Regions from separate parts of the Homo sapiens genome. Here region 1 is linked to region 2. Evidence: promoter capture Hi-C in 16 types of primary human blood cells and fetal thymus (Javierre and others, 2016). All regions are on one chromosome and are shown on one strand. The core of a region is centred on a gene start or on the middle of the fragment in contact, and the rest is flanking DNA. Distances in the headings are between cores, read along the strand shown.

Evidence for each region. Contacts are between HindIII fragments. The CHiCAGO score rates a contact against its expected background, and 5 or more counts as called.
Region 1: a fragment that was not itself captured here is called in contact with the fragment with the promoter of KRTAP2-3 in region 2 in 2 of 17 cell types (total CD8 T cells and naive CD4 T cells); the score reaches 6.7 in total CD8 T cells.

Annotation. Positions count from the first base shown.
Region 1 is chr17:41,626,864-41,630,472 of GRCh38, reverse strand. It overlaps the pseudogene KRT42P. Among named protein-coding and RNA genes, the nearest start is that of KRT17, 4.1 kb to the right of the region's middle. The HindIII fragment of the contact is 5,188 bases long and covers 1-3,609 here.
Region 2 is chr17:41,058,280-41,061,877 of GRCh38, reverse strand. KRTAP2-3 (keratin associated protein 2-3) reads left to right here and starts at 1,764. Exons shown (of 1, transcript NM_001165252.2): 1 at 1,764-2,638. The coding sequence starts at 1,828. The coding sequence ends at 2,214. RefSeq lists enhancers at 1,445-2,019, 2,020-2,594. The HindIII fragment of the contact is 5,271 bases long and covers 1-2,265 here.

The DNA of each region.
Region 1 (3,609 bases), core at 290-2,789, 570 kb before region 2:
CAGATTGAGAACCTCAAGGAGGACCTGGTCTACCTGAAGAAGAACCACAAGCAGGTGAGGTCAGCTCAGGGAACGCAGCAGAAATTCACCTGGAAGCAAGCGAGGCTGGGGCCCAGAACCTCCCTGGGCTGGGCTGTGCTTTCAGTCCAGTTCCCGTCTTTTATGGATGACTAGCCCTGACCCTCAGAGGACACTGCGTGAGGCCTGGAGGAGCCCCTCGTCCCAAATAGACTTCATTTGTCCCTTGAGGCTCAGCTCACTGCAGTTAACTAACTAATGAGTAACTCAGTTTAAGAACACACAATGCTAGTTATAATTAACACAATGCTTGTTATAATTAATTATAATAGTGATAGTCATTAAAACAAGGAACTTCTGCCCAGCACTACAAGTGACTCACAGCCATTATCTCAGCTGATACAACAGCTGGGAGAAAGATACTCTTACTTCCTTTTGACCTTTGAAGAAACGGAGGCTCAGAGAGGTTAAGGGATTTATCTATGGCTGCACAGGGACCCTCCTTCAGGTCTGTTGGACTCGTATCCACCCCACCTCTCTGCCCCCTCTCCTGCCTCTCCTTTCCAGAAGGCTCTAGGTCGCAGGGACTCCAAAGCTCAACCCAAGGATAGAGATCCAAGGTCCTGTGGGGCAGTCAGGAGGCCTTACATGCCCTGTCCTGTGTCTTCCTTCTCAGCCGAGCTCTGTGCTGCTCTGAGCTGGGGGAGCCTACTCCCCGAGAAGCAGGACACCCGGAAGGTGTTTCCCCCTGGCTTTGAGGCTGGTTATACAATTGCTTTCCTCCAGCAGATTAACATTTGCTAACGGGGCCTGGCGCAGTGACACAGCGTAGGGTTGCTTTCTGCATGCCTGTGCTGTGGGCTTGGTGGTGGGGGCAAGGCAGTGGTGGGGGCAAGGTCAGGGCAGTGAGTGAGGTCGCCCGTGGTCATCCTCCACCGTGCTGGGGGGTTGTCATCTCTCGGGGCTTAGCACTTGTTGGGGATGGGTGAATTCCAGTCCCGCGTCACGGTGTGTGTTGGGGGAGGTTGCTAATATTCACAGCCCTGTATGTTTGAGAAATGACAACATCCACCTCCACCTTCAGGGTGAGGAGCTGTTGGCCTATCTGTGTCTGTCTGTCTGTCATCTGTACCTGTCTCTCCGAGGGAAAGAAGGCAGGCCCCAGGGTCTTTCTCCAGGATGGCCTTGGGTGAGCTTCTGCTGTCCTCTCTGCCCAGGAAATGAACGTCCTTTGAGGTCAGGTGGATGAGGATGTCAGTGTGAAGATGGACACTGTGCCTGGAGTGAACCTGAGCTGCATCCTGAATGAGATGCGTGACCAGGACAAGACATTGGTGGAGAAGAGCTGCAAGGATGCCGAGGGCTGGTTCTTCAGCATGGTGGGTGGCCGTGCGTAAGCAGGTGTGTACACGTGTGGGCACATGTGCTGCATGCTGGTGCAGCTGGAGCACTGGCAGATCCACAGGCTGTCCCAGTTGGAAGGACTTTTGGAAACCAGTTGGACCAGCCCCTCATGTTTTAGATGTAAAACGTGAGGCTCAGAGAGGACTCAAGCTCACACAGCCCTTCACTGTGGCCTGCAAAATAGATCCAGGTCTCTACAAGTCTGGTCTTGGGTTTCCACCACAGCTGTTTACAGGATGTGCGTATTTGAATACATATGTATACCCTTGGCAAGCACAGGCTGAGTATCTCCGGTATCCTAGGGACAGCAACAGGCGCAAAAGAATAACACCCAGTGCCTGTCTTTGAGGTGCTGCAGTTCAGTAGGAAAAAGAAATGCAAATGACCGCAGAGCAGGCTGAATTCCTCCAAGTTCCAATGTGGGTGCAGAGGCTCTCTGTGTGCAGGTGCCTTTGGGGCCCCATAGAGGCCAGGGAGGGGCTAGGGGATGGTTCTGGGAGGTGAGGGTTCAGGAGCAGCCCTTTCCTGTGCCCCGCTTCTGAAAGTCTCCATAAACCCCTGTGGCCCACTCTGCCTTCCAGAAAGAGGGGCTGAACTGCGAGGTGGCCACCAACACAGAGGCCCTGCAGAGTGGCTGGATAGAGATATGGAGCTCTACGTCTCTGTGCAGAACCTGAGCCGTCCCAGCTCAGCAAGGTAGGGTCTCTGTCCCCTCCCCACCCTGTACCTGTCACCCCAGGGTGAGCCCAGCCTTGTAGACCCCTGCTTGGGGAACCAGAGTCCCCACCCAGCCTGTCCCTTCACACTCAGTGGCTGGGTGCACTACCACCTCATTGTGCTGGCAGCACCCACAGCCCCATACAGGAGGGGCTCCTCTCTAGTGCTCTGCCATGGGGAAGGGTCCCAGGTCCAGCTCATCACACCACCTATCTCTTGGCCCACAGAAAGCATCGCTGGAGGGCAGCCTGGTGGAGATGGAGGTGTGTTACAGGACCCTGCCGGCCCAGCTGCAGGGGCTTAACAGAAGCATGGAGCAGCAGCTGTGCGAGCTCTGCTGCGACACGGAGCACCAGGACCACAAGCACAGGTCCTTCTGGACGTGAAGACGTGGCTGGAGCAGGAGATCGCCACCTACCGCCGCTTGCTGGAGGTTGAGGACGCCCAGTGAGTGTGTACCAGGGTGCCTGTTGGGGTGGGCTGGGGGCCCGCTTCACCCAGGGAGAAGTTGGTGTCTGAGCACCAGCGAAATTCAGGAGGTGTGAATGTCGGAACCTGTTGGGGTTTGCAGGAGGTGATACTGACGATGCAGGCTGGAGTCTGGCTGAGGAGCCTTGAATGCCAAGTTAAAGCGTCTGGACTAGATCACGTAGGCAATGGGGAGCCATGGAGGGATTTGGAGCAGGAGAGTGAAATGAACATCAAGAGATTTTAGAACATTCACTCTGGCTGCAGAGGGAGAAATGGATCAGAGGGGTCAGGGCGGGGCCAGAGAGATGTGTCAGGGGGCTGGAGCAGGGAGTCTGGCCAGAGAAGTCCCGTGCGGTGGTGGGTAGTGGGGCAGGGGAAGGAAGGTGGTGCACGCAGAAGAGAGGTTATAGCTCAAAACAGCGGGACTGGATGCCTGGATCTCGGGGTAAGCATGGCTCACAGTCAGGACTCAGTAAGTGTCGGGAGAACACATGAAGGAGCAGGCATTGATGGCCCTGGGTTTCTGGTTCTGATGACTGTGTGAGTGGTGAAGAGCAAGGTGGGTGGTGGTTGGGTTTGCAGTTGGGAAGGGTGATCAGGCCTTCAGCTGAGAGTGTCCCGGAGTCTCCATGCTTAGTCACACGTTGCAGCTTTTTGCTCCCCGGAAATGGTGAAGTCCATCTATAGTCTAACAACAGTCTCTCCTGCTTTAATTGGGTCTATTTGTTGGGCCCTCTGGGTTATGGAAAAACCACTTGCTCAGCTTCTCCTTGTAAATTCCTGGTGAGTAGCCACAGAGTGCCGCCAGACCTACTGCTGTGCTGTTTCTTTTTCTTCTTCCTGCTGTGCTGAACCCCTGCCCTTTCATTCTTGGGCCTGCGCTAATTTCTGTGCATTCCCAACTGTGATTTTTCACCAATTTAGGGGAACCTCCTCTGCCAGGGCCTACTTCTCCCCAGCAGTGCTTGCAGGTGCCTGGGCTGGCTGGCATCCCTGGGC
Region 2 (3,598 bases), core at 515-3,014:
AAGTCACTTGTCTGAAATTCTGTACCTGGGTTGGGTACTGAGGTTGCTTCTCTGTCCAGATGACTTAGATCCTGTCTAGGCAAGAGTGAAATGTTTCCTTCTTACTGATGTGGCTTGGAAGAGCAAGGTTTCTAACAGCCTATAATTTTAGAAAACAGTATTTCTTAGTACTGTGTTCTTTTGTTAACAAAAGCAGTGGATTTACAGACATATTTCTCTTTTTAGTTTGGCATCTCTGTATACATTCCAAAACAAAGAACAGAATGCTAAACCATGTATCAAGTGAGTACTTATTTTATTTCACTAAAGGGAATAAAACTTTTTAATAACTACTGCTACATGTTATCTATTTTGAGTGACTCCGAGTTGGAAAAAGACTGGGAGACATCACCAGTGTTTCTACTCCACAGAAGACCTGTGGTATTGCTAAATATTTGCCACTCTTTGATCCGTACGACTTTGGAGGAATTCATTTTGTAAATCTGGTCTTCCAAAAACTGTGATGGACTATGATGGATCATAGACTCAAAGGACTTCAAAGATCAGGGATATGATAGACCAAAGGGTGTATTTTTAAAAAGAGAAAACAAAACAAAACACACCTCAGAGGTAAATTTGCACTGAAGACCATCAGCATTCCTTGGACAATGTTATCTTTAATCTACCTTCCAACTCTAAATTTATTTTCTGTATTCCTATTCATCTTTGCTATGGCTGGAAAAGACAAAGCTATTTTATTGGTCACCAGCTAAACTAATTCCCCTTGTCTTTTTCATAATGCCACCTTCCCACCTCATAAACAAACAAAACCCTCAGCCAACAAACTAAAGAAGCTGTGACAGAAAGATAATTGATTCCTTTGTAGATATTGTCCATAGATTTTTAAGTATGTAATACAAAGTGCATATGTCAAAGCAAGAAAGCAAGAAATAGCCCAATTTCAATTTTATTTCTAGGTCAATAATCAGGGAAGGGCATTCAGAAAGGCACAGAATGAATGAAATCCCCATTTAGTTTGACCTTATTGTTCCCAGAAAAGTTCTTTCCCTTTAATTGCTTGATTTATCTTTGTCTTGCCTTACTAAAAGTTATGATTACTATGTGATAGGAAACTATTTGAAAGCTATTTTTCTTTCCTTTCCCCCTCCACCCCCAAATAGTACAGTACCATCTACATAATAAGTGTCTCATAAGTGTTAATGAGTTATAAACCAACTCAGATTACTAAAATAAAATCAGTCTAGCAGCTTTGGTGATGATTTTCTTATAAACAAGGTTAGGCACTGTGTCATTAAACACTGGGCCATTCTTTCCATAGCAGAATCAATACACATCTGCTCTTATGAGCCATTTTGGTTTTTAAGAAATTCTTGCTTGATCTCAATGCCAATCAGAAACCCAGCCTGTGACTCATGAACATTCCAGTCCCATGCTTAAGTCACGGATGGCAGCGAACAAGAGGAAAGTGTGATGGTGGCTGGATTCTTCAAACTTGCACCTTCTCACATGGCATGGCCTGGAAGGACTAGCTGATAGATGAGCAATTGTTCTGATGATATACATGACCAGGTATTCCGTTCTAGGGAAAAAGTAGACAGGTAGAAAACAAAGCATTCTTTAGTGATTTAGGGATCGCTGCCTCAGCAGTTAAATCCAGAGTTCTCATTTCAACGGGCAGCTACAACTCCAGGAAATGACCTCATGTCCTGGGGGTCATCAGCATCCAGCTAGGATATATAAAGGGCCCAGAGTGGAACGAGGACATTCACACCTGAGAACATCCAGCTCCTCTCAACAGCCCAACCCACACCAGCCTCAGACACCACCATGACCGGCTCCTGCTGCGGCTCCACCTTGTCCTCCCTGAGCTACGGGGGAGGCTGCTGCCAGCCCTGCTGCTGCCGCGACCCCTGCTGCTGCCGCCCCGTGACCTGCCAGACCACCGTGTGCCGCCCCGTGACCTGCGTGCCCCGCTGCACGCGCCCCATCTGCGAGCCCTGCCGCCGCCCGGTGTGCTGCGACCCCTGCTCCCTGCAGGAAGGCTGCTGCCGCCCCATCACCTGCTGCCCCTCGTCGTGCACGGCTGTGGTGTGCAGGCCCTGCTGCTGGGCCACCACCTGCTGCCAGCCTGTGTCTGTGCAGTCCCCCTGCTGCCGGCCTCCCTGCGGCCAGCCGACCCCTTGCAGCACCACCTGCAGGACCTCCTCCTGCTGAGACCCCACCTCTCCTCTCAACGCACGAAACATTCCCAGGTGCACAGAAGCTTGTGCAGACTCTTCTACCCCTTCTGGATCAGATGAGAGACTCCACCTTTGCAGCCTAGCTGATCCTCAAGCACGAATTCAACAATAACATCCTATCTATTTCCCCACATAATTATGCAGCTAATCCTGGCCCTCTCTGACAATCTTGAGAAAAATTCCAGCTTTCATCATTCGAATTCCTGGCTTGAAAAAAAAAACGAGTAAATAAAAATCAAAGCTCCTCTTGAATAGAACTCTGTCCCACTGACTCATCACCCTTTTTTCTACTGTTTCAAGGTTCTCAGATGAGATTTTTTTCTTCCAGGATAATACTATTTGTATGCTGTATTTTTGCACTGTAAAAAAAAATAAAATTATATTTCTGGGGAAGCAAACATTTCTTTTTATTTATTGTTTATTGCTCTTCAAAAGCTCATATTTAGCTTACATTACAGCATGCAGAACCAGAAGAACGAAAGGAGAGATTTTCTAAGGGCCATTTTTGAGCTTTAGAATAGGAACAACTCAGGTGGAAGGTCTATAATTTTAATAGCATTTCAAATAAATCTGATCATCTCATGATTCACCTTCATATTTCGAGTCGCAGGTTTTATGGTGATGCTGACGAAATGGTGAGACTACAGTAGGTCTCTGTAAACATAAACTTGACTTATGAATAATTCACACACATGATAAGGGGGAGGAAGTCTAAGCTAAGTTATAGCCCTATTTGTTCACCAATGTAGGAAACTGTACGGTAATTGATGTCAAACAAGACCTGGGAATCCCTAGCCACTGAACATCCTATGCTGGAGGAACCACTATCCCATCTTCTCCATGGTTCCCGTCAGCACCACCATGGCCAGTTCTACTTCCAGTGGAGTGGCTGCTGCTGAGAAGACAGGGAGAAATGAAGCCTTGGTTGTAATCATCCTAGTTTTGAGCTCCGCATACATCTTAACCATTTAAACAACTGCAATGCGGTTGAAATGCTGATAACATTAATCCATACTGCATATATTTTTGATTTTGTTAAATACTTGTATGTTGGTAAGGAAGGCTAACCACTATCATTTTCCTGATAAATATCTTTTTAGTTCCTAGCATGTGATAGAAAAGAGATTTCTTTGATTGTTCAGCATGTATTCCTGGGCATATCTACCTGCCCATTGAGAGAAGTGAGGCAAGGGAAGCTTTGTGAGGGCAGGGGTCTTTAGTCTTTTTAATTTAAATTTATTTCAAGTTCAGGGGTACATGTGCACGTTTGTTATATAGGTAAATTGTGTGTCACAGGGTTTTGGTATACAGATTATTTCATCACCCAGGTAATAAGCATAGTAACAGATGGCCAGGTG